4 separate regions of the Homo sapiens genome follow, and regions 1, 2 and 3 are each linked to region 4. Evidence: promoter capture Hi-C in human tissues and cell types (Jung and others, 2019). All regions are on one chromosome and are shown on one strand. The core of a region is centred on a gene start or on the middle of the fragment in contact, and the rest is flanking DNA. Distances in the headings are between cores, read along the strand shown.

The links. The method cuts DNA at HindIII sites, captures the fragments that hold promoters and counts their contacts. A contact is called where the count stands out against the background at its distance.
Region 1: a contact is called between a fragment that was not itself captured here and the fragment with the promoter of LRIT3 in region 4, in 3 of the 25 tissues and cell types used here (lymphoblastoid cells, mesenchymal stem cells and spleen).
Region 2: a contact is called between a fragment that was not itself captured here and the fragment with the promoter of LRIT3 in region 4, in 1 of the 25 tissues and cell types used here (mesenchymal stem cells).
Region 3: a fragment that was not itself captured here is called in contact with the fragment with the promoter of LRIT3 in region 4 in 1 of the 25 tissues and cell types used here (spleen).

The regions. Positions count from the first base shown.
Region 1 is chr4:109,423,526-109,426,225 of GRCh38, forward strand. No RefSeq gene overlaps it. Among named protein-coding and RNA genes, the nearest start is that of SEC24B, 8.9 kb to the right of the region's middle. The HindIII fragment of the contact is 3,067 bases long and covers 1-2,700 here.
Region 2 is chr4:109,441,146-109,443,845 of GRCh38, forward strand. The region is part of intron 1 of SEC24B (SEC24 homolog B, COPII component); the gene reads left to right. Among named protein-coding and RNA genes, the nearest start is that of SEC24B-AS1, 8.7 kb to the left of the region's middle. The HindIII fragment of the contact is 3,972 bases long and covers 1-2,700 here.
Region 3 is chr4:109,404,866-109,407,565 of GRCh38, forward strand. No RefSeq gene overlaps it. Among named protein-coding and RNA genes, the nearest start is that of SEC24B, 28 kb to the right of the region's middle. The HindIII fragment of the contact is 5,184 bases long and covers 1-2,700 here.
Region 4 is chr4:109,846,760-109,849,459 of GRCh38, forward strand. LRIT3 (leucine rich repeat, Ig-like and transmembrane domains 3) reads left to right here and starts at 1,348. Exons shown (of 4, transcript NM_198506.5): 1 at 1,348-1,558. The coding sequence starts at 1,443. The HindIII fragment of the contact is 6,154 bases long and covers 1-2,058 here.

The DNA.
Region 1 (2,700 bases), core at 67-2,566, 420 kb before region 4:
TATTTCTCATTCAACTCACCAGATTATTGGGATAATCATGTGTGTGGAGAAGATTCTCAATCTCTTTGAGTTTCAGATTTCTCATCTGCAGAATTAAAGTGTGTACTTTTTTGAGGAAATAATACATGAACATACATAGAACAATGCCTGGCACAGCCTAAATGCTCCAGAAATGGGAACTATTATTTTTTCCTCAGACTTTTACCTTATTTTGAAAGTAAGCAGGCTGGGCACGGTGGCTCATGCCTATAATCTCAGCACTTTGGGAGGCCGAGGCAGGTGGATCACCTGAGGTCGGGAGTTCGAGACCAGCCTGACCAACATGCAGAAACCCCATCTCTACTTGTGGGCGGAAAGCCACCCAGGTGCTGAGGCAAGAGACTGAAGGCACAAGCTGTTCCAGTATAATAAAAGAAAATAATTAGAATACAAAAAGTTATACTAAAAATAAGATATAGACATGATTATATATGAATATTATCAATCTTTAGTTGGTAGTGTTGCTCTTTTAGTATTATAATAATCTCTGTTTTATAATCATAACCTAGAAAACACCAGGCCATACAGAGTCAGGAGCTGAAGGGACATGGTGAGAAGTAACCAAAGGACAAGAGTGTGAGCCCTCTGTCACGCCCGGATAAGGGCCGCTTGAGGGTTCCTTGGTCTAGCGGTAAGGTCAGTGCCTGGGAAAGCACCCATTACTTGGCAGACCTTGGTCTAGCGGTAGGGCCAGTGCCTGGGAAGGCACCCGTTACTCGGCAGACCTTGGTCTAGCGGTAGCGCCAGTGCCTGGGAAGGCACCCGTTACTTAGCAGACCGGGAAAGCGAGTCTCCCTTTCCCCGGGGGGAGTTAGAGAACACTGCTCCACCAACTCTTGTGGGAGTCCTGACATTAGCCAGGCCTGCCCGCAGTCATCTGGAGGCTTAAACATCTGTGGTGCTGTGCTTCAGTGGTCATGCTCCTTGTCCACTTTCATGTTCTGCCTGTACACCTGGCACCTCCTTTTAAGTTCTTAAAAGATAGCAGTAACAAAATTAGTGAAAGTACTAAAGTCTTTGATCTTCCTGATAAGTGCACAGAAGAAATGCTGACATATACTGTCCTCCCTCTCTGCTTCAGCTATCACAAAGGGAAAGGCCCCCCGTCACGTGGACACGTGACTTGCTTGACCTTATTAATCATTTGAGATGACTCAAACTCCTTACCCTGCCCCCTTGCCTTGCATACAATAAATAGCAGTGTGTCCAGGCATTCAGGGTCACTACCAGGCTTCGCGCATTGGTGGTAGTGGTCCCCTGGGCCCAGCTGTGTTTCCTTCTATTTCTTTGTCTCATGTCTATTTTTCTACAATCTCTCATCTCTGCACACTAAGGAAAAACCCACAGGCCCTGTAGGGCTGGACCCTACACTACTAAAAATACAAAATTAGCGGGGCATGGTGCATGCTTGTAATCCCAGCTACTTCGGAGGCTGAGGCAGGAGAATCACTTGAACCTAGGAGACGGAGGTTGCAGTGAGCTGAGATTGAGCCATTGCACTCCAGCCTGGGCTACAAAAGCAAAGCTCTGTTTCAAAAAAAAAAAAAGAAGAAAGAAAAAGAAAGTATAGGGCATTAATTATAGTAACTTGTGCACAGTTTCATCATTTGTGCCAAATGATCATGTAACAAAATTATGACTATGCCTATTGTGTATTATGTGTGTGTGCACATTAACTATCAAAATGTCCATATTTTGTATCTGCAACAAACTTATATATTGGCAGCAACTACAGCGCTATTGGCCAATTACAACAACAACATGAAACACAGACACCGAGAGAAGAAACGTTATCTAAACCCAAAGTGTGAGTGTCTCAGAGCACATATTTTCCAAATGTCAGTTAACAGGGAAAACTAACAGATACCATAACCAGTGACATTCCCTCCCTGCCCTGAATTATGGTGAAAGTGTATGAATTATATGCCCCATTTTCAGCTATACAATTTAGAGCTCCACTGGAGTTCTGTGGAAGACCAAGTGAGGAGCTTTCAGTTTTGGAAAGTAGATACTCATATGACATAAATGGTCTAGATTCAGGAAAAAGAACAGCTAGGCCTTGGTGATGGCTTCTGAATGCAGTTTGTACAATTTACAACTCAAGTGTCATGTGATATCATTTCTGTGGGGATTCTCGTTCAAAAATAATGAGACTAATGTTGATAAACGATCGAGATTTTTATTATGAGTTTCCGTAAAGGTGTAACACAGGGGTCTCTCCCAGAAAAATAGAAAGTAAAGCTTCCAACAATACTTCTCTATATCTCTCCTCCCTCCAAAGTTCCCTACTTATGACGGCTGCTAAAATTCTCCTCCTCTTTCAATCTCCCAATCCTTCCATGTTGTTATCTCACAGTTTTCTTTCTACCCTGTTCACTACCTTCTTCCCACATGGTGTAAAAGTGAGAAGCTTCTCTTGTACCCCTGCCCACCAACCATACATAGAAGACAGCTAATGGCCTCCCATTTCTCTCTCTCTTCTTGGCAAGAAGCATGTAGCATCCCCTACAAAGTATATTTTTCTCCTCCTGAATGATTTTTGCATGAGACATTTTCTTACAGAGAAATTCCGGGGACTAACATTCTCTACTTTGTTTTATGTATATATAATAAAGTATATAATATACATATAAAACAAAGGTGTATATATAAAGCCAGATA
Region 2 (2,700 bases), core at 114-2,613, 410 kb before region 4:
TTGCCTAGCCAGTGGCCAAGTCTTAACTTGTTTTCCTTAGGATTTCTGATTAATGGATATTGTGAAATGAGGTATAAGCCTGGCTTTGGAACCAGCAATGCCTGGCTTCTTTGCTCCTTACCAACGATTTGAATTCGTATGAATTAGTGGGCTTTCATGGCCCTGTTTATTTGTATATAAAAGATGATAGTGATACTTCACAGAATTGTTTGAGAAGCATATCAGATTATATGTAGAAAAGCAAGGTATCTGGCATGTAGTAGATTCTGAACCAATATTGATTTTCTTTTCTTTCTGTATTTTGAGACAGGGCCTCACTTTGTCACCCAGGCTGGAGTGCAGTGATATGATCACAGCTCACTGCAGTCTTGACCTCCCCGGGTTAAGGTGATTCTCCCACTTCAGCCTCCTGAGTAGCTAGGACTACAGGGGCATGCCACTATGCCCAGCTAATTTTTGTATTTTTTGTAGAGATGGGGTTTCACCATGTTGCCCAGGCTCAAGTGATTCTCCTACCTTGGCCTCCCAGAGTGCTGGGATTACAGCGTGAGCCACCATGTGTGGCCTTGGTTGTCTTTTGGCCCCTCACTCATAGCACTCATTGTCGTGGTATCCAAGAAGGATAATTGATGTTGTAGCAGGAATAATCTATACTTAATGCAGTGAGATTTAATCCAGTTGTTTACATAGCCTGTGTCTGTAGGCTCTGTCCGCCAGCGGTGACTGGAACAGTTACCTTCATCCTCAGGTATATTTGCAGTTTATGGAATGTAGGAGAGAAAGAATACAAGAAAACATTTCTCTCAGAGCTTGGGAAGAAGCTCTATAACTGTTATCCTTGCATTATGATAACCTAGGATATCCAGATGTAATCTGAGACTCCTCATTTTTGAAATCACCAAGGTTTGTAATTGCCTATTGCCTTAGGGGTGTGTGGGTGTGCAAGCATGCACATTTTTTATGCCCATTAAAAATCTGTATTTTGGCATTGTTAGTGATACCTTATTGGCAGGGAGAGTATATTAAAATATTCAGTAATCAGTACTGTGTATACTGACCACTAAATGGATACCATCCTTCATACCAGAGCAGGATCCTATAAGCTTTCAGCTGTGCCAGGCATTACTCCTTCAGCTGCGGATTATGAGAAGGTTTGGGCTAGCATGGTGGGGTAAAGCAGGGGAATAGGACCATGGCTATGACTCATTACCAACTGATTCAGAGCTATTTTAACATTTTAACAAAGATAATTGTTAAAATGAATACCTGGGTGCATACTGACTGAATATTGGCCTATTTCTTTGTAATTGAGTGATGAATGAATTCAGTGATTACATTCTTCGATCTGATTCTACCTCAAAGTTAGTATGAATTTATCTTAGTAGGATAAAGGAACTTGTACTTTGCTGACCTTGATGTTTGTGTTCAGATAATGGAAACTGAAATCTGACTTTGATCTGACTGAAAAAAAAAGTTGGAATTCAATTCAGGAAAATATTAATGAAACAACTATTTTTAATATTAAAATGTGTCTCAGGGAGGGGGAATGATCATGCTATTATGGAAATCTCAGGAGTAGTCAAATTAGAGATGTGGTTTTTGTTTTCTCTCTTCATTTTTTTCTTTTTAAACAATAATTGTAGTATGGTGGAAATCATGACTGTTACAATCTTATTCAGGTAACTTGCTTTATTTTTGTGTTTTCCTGTATGTTTATATTACTCATTTATCAATTTTGCACATTTTTACTAGGTTTGGTAACCTTTTTATGTCAAATGTTTTTTTCCCTATAAAATGGCTGTATTGTAATATTAGAATAATCCAATGTTGATGCTTTATTTTCCTTGAAGTTTCTCCAACTTTATATTTATGGTAATATCTCTTAAGTGAGCTCTCAGTACCAGTTAGTCCTGTGGTATTTCCCTGCTCCATTCCCAGTGTCACATGCTCCCCTTTTCCCTCAAATTCTCAGTATCCTGTCTCTCTGCCTCCCTTTCCAATGGTGACCTTACTTATTTTACTAAGAAATTGAAAGCAATCTGACAATCTGAAGATAAAGTATTAATCTTCTGCCACCAAATCTGTCAGTCTTCCTGCATATTATTCTTGTGTTATCTGAGACAAATTCAGATTATTTGGGTACAGAATTCTGTTCCCTCTCTTTTAAGAACTTTGTCCCTCCGATTATCTCATTTACCATCAATTTTGATCTTAAACACCTGAACCTTATTTTATGCAATGCATATGTAATCCTAACAGTTATATATAACTTTTATTTTAGAGACGAGATCTCACTGTGTTGCCTGGGATGGTCTCAAACTCCTAGGCTCAAGTGACCCTCCAACCTCTGCCTCCCAGAGTGCTGGGATTACAGGCATGAACCACCATGCCTGGCCTATAAATTTAATTTACAATTCCTAGCAAATATTTATGTAGCTCCTCTTTACATAACATTTTGTGCTAGATACTCTGGGCATACAAATGTGAATGTTCTCTGCACTCCAGGAGTTCTGTACCCCTCAGTAAAAGAGGAGAGGACTGTCAGCACTGAACATGTGTTTCCTTCATAAGGCCTGTGAGAAGGGTGCCCAGAGTTTTGAAGAGGAAACAATTCTTTTTGGTTAAAGTAATAGGGAATCTTAAGGGAGGAAGTTAGAACTTCAGCTATATCTAAAATGATGGACACATTTTGAATTGTCA
Region 3 (2,700 bases), core at 75-2,574, 440 kb before region 4:
TCTATAGTCCAATGAGAGAGGCAGATGCTAAAGAAATATAGGCACAATTAATACATAAAAGGCATTTTTATGTGGCACACAGTCCATACCATATGACCCAACCAGAAGGTTCAAGTATTTCAGTACAATTTAGGTCAACTTCAATATTAAAAATACTTCCTAAGTACAATAGTAATTTTTAGTGCATATTATAAACAAGGGCCAAGAAAAAAAAACCCTAATTTGATCTTTATATTTGTTAGTTCTTAATGAAAATACTAATTGCTCTTTACCCATTTCTGTGAAACTCTAAATTTTTATTTGTGATGAGTCCAGGTCTATTGGATAGACTTTCAGCATTAGTAAAATGACAGAACATATTACAGGGAAAGTATAAGAACATACAGATTCATTTTCTTTTAAGCTTGGAAACAGGATTCTTTGACTCAAATAGGGCTTCTGTTTGGTGAATTAATGGGTCACCATAACCAAATAATTGTAAGTCACAATTTAACTGAAAACCAGAGAGTAAAAATAGCAAAGACTAAACATATAACATCCTTCTTTCTTCATCTTTGCTTCTGAAAGGTGTGTCTTTCCTGAACTATGAATCACTGCCACAGACTTTGCAAATTTGTTCCATAAGAGGGAAGTACCAGAGCAGCAGTAATGTTCTCATCGCGGGCTTCGCTGCTTCGGAGGGAAGAGGGGCACAGCCTATATAGTTTGGATAACTCTCATTCCCCACAGGTCGCATAAAATGGAAACTGTTAAAACATAAATATTCTGCATTGTTTCACATTACCTTTACACAATAACTGTGACGACTATACTAATAGCAGGCATGATCTTATTGCTTCCTTTCCTTCTTAAACTTGAGTCTTGGGTATCATCATAATCAACATTCTAAAGCTTCCAACATCTCAATCCTAAAAAGTAAATGAAAGCATGGTCCATAAAATTTACAGCTTATGTTTAGTATTTTGGCAACTATTGCTACTCCATAGGCCTGAAAGTAAAATAAATAGGGCTTGAATTTTGAGTCGAAATCAAAATTAAGGTTTTCTTTTTCTTTTATGACTTGGCTTGCTACAGAATTCTGATTGCTACAGAAAAAATTCTGAAAAATATTTGGTAAAATTCTGATTGCTAAAAAATTTTTATGAAATTCCCAGATTAATAATTGTTATTTTAGCCAAAAGTTTTTCAACATTGTTAAAATATAGCATTGGCTAAAGTCTCTCTCTCTATGTGTATGTGTGTGTGTGTATGTATATATAGATGCACACAGACTTTATTTATAATTTTTGCATGCCCTAAAATTTCCGTTTATGTATTCTTTCTGATTGTTTTTCCAAAAAATTAACACCCACATTGACTTATTAGCTTCTCTCCTAAGATAATTTTCTCTCCATATATGAAACAAAGTTGAAAAAAAATAGCTTCTTTTACATCATATAGTAATAATTTCAGTATCACATATTTTCTTCTTTGTCTTCCCAATAACAATTGCTTGAACAATGATGATAATGAATTTGTGGGTGAAATTATTATTACTTTGTGCTTCTTTACCCTCTTTTGTGTAATTAAGGGTACAGTGTACTTCTTTACCTTCTTTTGTGTAATTCAGGGTACAGTGTACTGTTTTACCCTCCTTGTGTAATTCAGGTACAGCAGCACCACATAGTGGACATTTTGGTACTTCTCCGTGAAGAATCATTTCGCTTACCTTCAAAGCAATTGGTTTGCTTTAAGGAATGCAATTTGTGTGGATATTGCTGATGATTATCTCTCTTAATATTGCTCTGGTGAGCCAACATGTGAAGTTACAGATTTCACCTAATATAAGAACAATAATCAGCCTCACAGTCATTGTGAAAAGATAAAAGAGAAGTATTTTAAAATAAGTGTGAAGATACATATAAGTCTGTGCTTCAAATTTACTATGTAATACTAATTATTTCCTAATGTATACTTTGTAAGGGAAGCAAAGCCAATGCTTAGATTTTAGTAATAATAATTCTCAGAGTAAGCCATTCATCCTCATCCATATTCCTATATATCTATAGAAAGAGGCCTAATAGAGGTAATTGTTGCTGTTGTGATTAAATCAAGGCACAAAGAAAAAAATAATGTATGCTATCCCAGGAGTTGATATGTAAATCCAGTTAGCAAAGAGAAAAATTATGCTAATATTAACATTGTCATTTTTTTTGCCACAGTAAGTCTGGATTTGTCAGACATCAATTAAAATCAGGGTGTGAGCAAGGATTTTACACATTCATGGAGAAACATAAAGAGCTGCCATCTAAATGCAATAATACAGTATTTAACATTGTTCTAATAGTCACACCACTTTTTGTCCCAGAATAATTTATGCTCCCTGACTCAGCATACAACTCCCTGGCTAGATTGGAACAGAAACAAACTGACAACCCAGAGAGGAAGCATTGTGTAGAAGGGACAACTCACCCACAGCCCCATGCTTTAGGGGCTTCAGCCAGTTTGTTCATAGAATCAGACTCACTGGAAATATTCAGGACTTAGAATGGTGCAAGGCGAAAAGGAGCAAAGGGAGTCATTTGCAAAAGATAAAAAACACAGTCACTTCTACAGAGTTCAATCATGCAATCACTTGTTGAATTAACCAGACAACATTTCTCAGTTAACGTCTACATGAAAAGCACTGATCCAGGCACTATGGACTATAGAGCAGGGGTT
Region 4 (2,700 bases), core at 98-2,597:
CTGAGCAACAAGAAGTGCTTGAAATTCTCTGAGGACAATACACTGTTTCTCACTTCCCTCCCTTTGTTCCCACTATTCCCTTTGCTTGCAATGCAACTTTCTGGATTTTCCCATAATACATCGTCATGCACCCTGTAAAAGGCAGCCAGGCACCACCCACCCTAGGAAGTCTTGCTTGACTAACACAGGCTGGGTTTGATGCTCTTTTCTCGTGCTTCTTTAGTAGTCTGTTCCTCCCTTTATCGTGTGAGTTCCTTATGTGTAATAACTGTCTTATTTATCTTTGTACCCCTCAATGCTCAGCAGAGAATAAGTACTCAGTAAATATTTGATGAACAAACGAGTTGTGCAGAATCTGAAAACCTGCAGTATTTTATTTTAATTGAGCACAGTTTTTCAGACTGTATGGTTTTTATATACATTCTATTGGTTTTAAATAACATTTTCTATAATATGCTTATTTTTATAGAATTAATTTTCTTTTAAAAAGGTTTTTAGTTAAAGAGGATGGTTAGAAGCAGCCACTAAGAAGGTTAAATGACGTATATTTATTACTTAAATCCTTGATTGTCCCTGTGGATTCTCCACTCTATGAGTGTGGAGATACTTTTAAATTTAATTACATTTAATTTTTATTTTCTGACAGAGCCTAATATAGCTGAAAGAATTAGAGTTGATCTTCAAATATGGCTTTGATGCTGATAACTTGGGAAACTATTGAACAGAGATAGTTGCCTGCATTAAAAATAAATGTGCTGGGATAAACCTTCCACACACTGAGATGACCTGGAAGAGTCTCAGAACACGTTCTTATTGGAGAACTTAGTCCTGCCACATCAGTAGTGGATTGAAGCATTTTCCCTATAAAATCTGTGTAACTGACTTGTTTTACTTTACTTTTAGAGATAGCCAGTATGTGGCAACATCGATAACTCTTTTCTAAATCATTTTTATGTCATGTGCTTCTATTTTTAAAACTAAATTTTGTAAAACTGAATTAGTAACACATTCTGGCAAAAACCAAATGCAAAACATTTTATAATGTTGTAACATGTAAATAATCTACAGAATTTTCTTGCATCTGCCAAGACTGAATTATTTTACATTAAGTATATTTTTAAGGTGTAGTGGCAAGTACATCCAGAAGAAAGGGATTTAATAGGCATTTTCTTGCAAATCTAGTTACGGGTAACTATTGAAATTGCTTGTCATGTGTTTGATTTTCATTTTCCTTAGAATGTGTTACTTTGCTGAAACTGTATTCAAAGGCTGGATCAATTGATCTCCTGCAAGATACACTTGAAGGTTAAGTAACTACAGATCTCAGCTAATCCCGTGTAATCTGCTGTTACTAAATGGCTGTTTGTATTCCAGGCATACCAGGTTCTGAATGCTTAGGATTCGGTTTTTACCTTTTGTTTAAATAACCTCTAAAAGGAGCAATGCATCTCTTTGCATGTCTGTGCATTGTCCTTAGCTTTTTGGAAGGAGTGGGCTGTTTGTGTCCTTCACAGTGCACCTGTGATTATCACGGCAGAAATGACGGCTCAGGATCAAGGTATGCTCCTCTGCTTGTTACTAAGTGTTCTCATTATTTTGACAAAAAGGACCCAAACAAGAAAGCCTACTTTTGAAAGCAAATGTTTGGGGATCAGAAATCACAGAAGAGAATGTTTAGTGTCCATAAGCTTTAACTTAATTGTTTTAACACTGGTCACCTACTCCTTCACTGTTTTCGTTTTGAGCAGTTTAACTCTCAAAGGCCTCTCAAGGTATTGGAAATTTCTAAACACATTCTATGTTCCAAAATTTTTATTATGCTCATGTTCACAAATTGTTGCTTGAGATCAAACGATTTAAAGGTGCATGGCCAGCTAAGCCCTTGATTATAGAAAGGCTAAGAGGGCAGGCTGAACAGGAGCTGCGTGACATGCTCAGATCCTTTGCTTTCATGGCTCTCCACTTCCTTTGAGAACTATTCATGCCAATTGAATGGCAGAAAGAAAGATCTCAAGAGTGAAGTTAGAGAGGTTAATAGTTAGAATTTTTCATTTTAAGCTGATGGAATTTACAAAATAAAGAAGATTGAAAAAGATACTGTCTGTTTCAGACACTGCAGGATCTCACAGAAGTTATTCAATCTCTAGGTTGCTTTAGCATCTACTTGTGTAGTGAGAAGAGTTATTTACTTATATTGTGCATGAGGCCTTTTAGATATGTTAAATGCAAAACAGAACTCTTGCTAGCTAAACACAGTAGAACTTGAATTTTTTTTTTGAGAGGTTATTTAATAACAAAATCAGGTTATTTGTGACTTGGTTGAAGTAAACGGTGTCTCAGATAAAATAATTTGTTAAAAGAGTTGCCCAATTTATGTCTTATAACTTTAAACAAATAAATAATAATAAATAAGACATATTTGTGAAAAGCTTATCTTGTTATTGTATAAACTTTAGTTAACCAATTCTTGGTATTTTTTGAGATATTCACTGGGTGGTTAAAGACAATGAAGAGAATGTAGCAAGTTAAAGACCTACTTGTCCAGGGACGTGTAGCAGTGAAGGATCAGGCCAGGGTACTTTTGAGAAACTATCACAGAAATGTTTCCTTCTTTGTGGTGACCCCATTATTGATGGATTTTATAAAAATTATAGAATATTAGGCCTGGCAAGAAATAATCTAGTTCAACCCCTTGTCAGT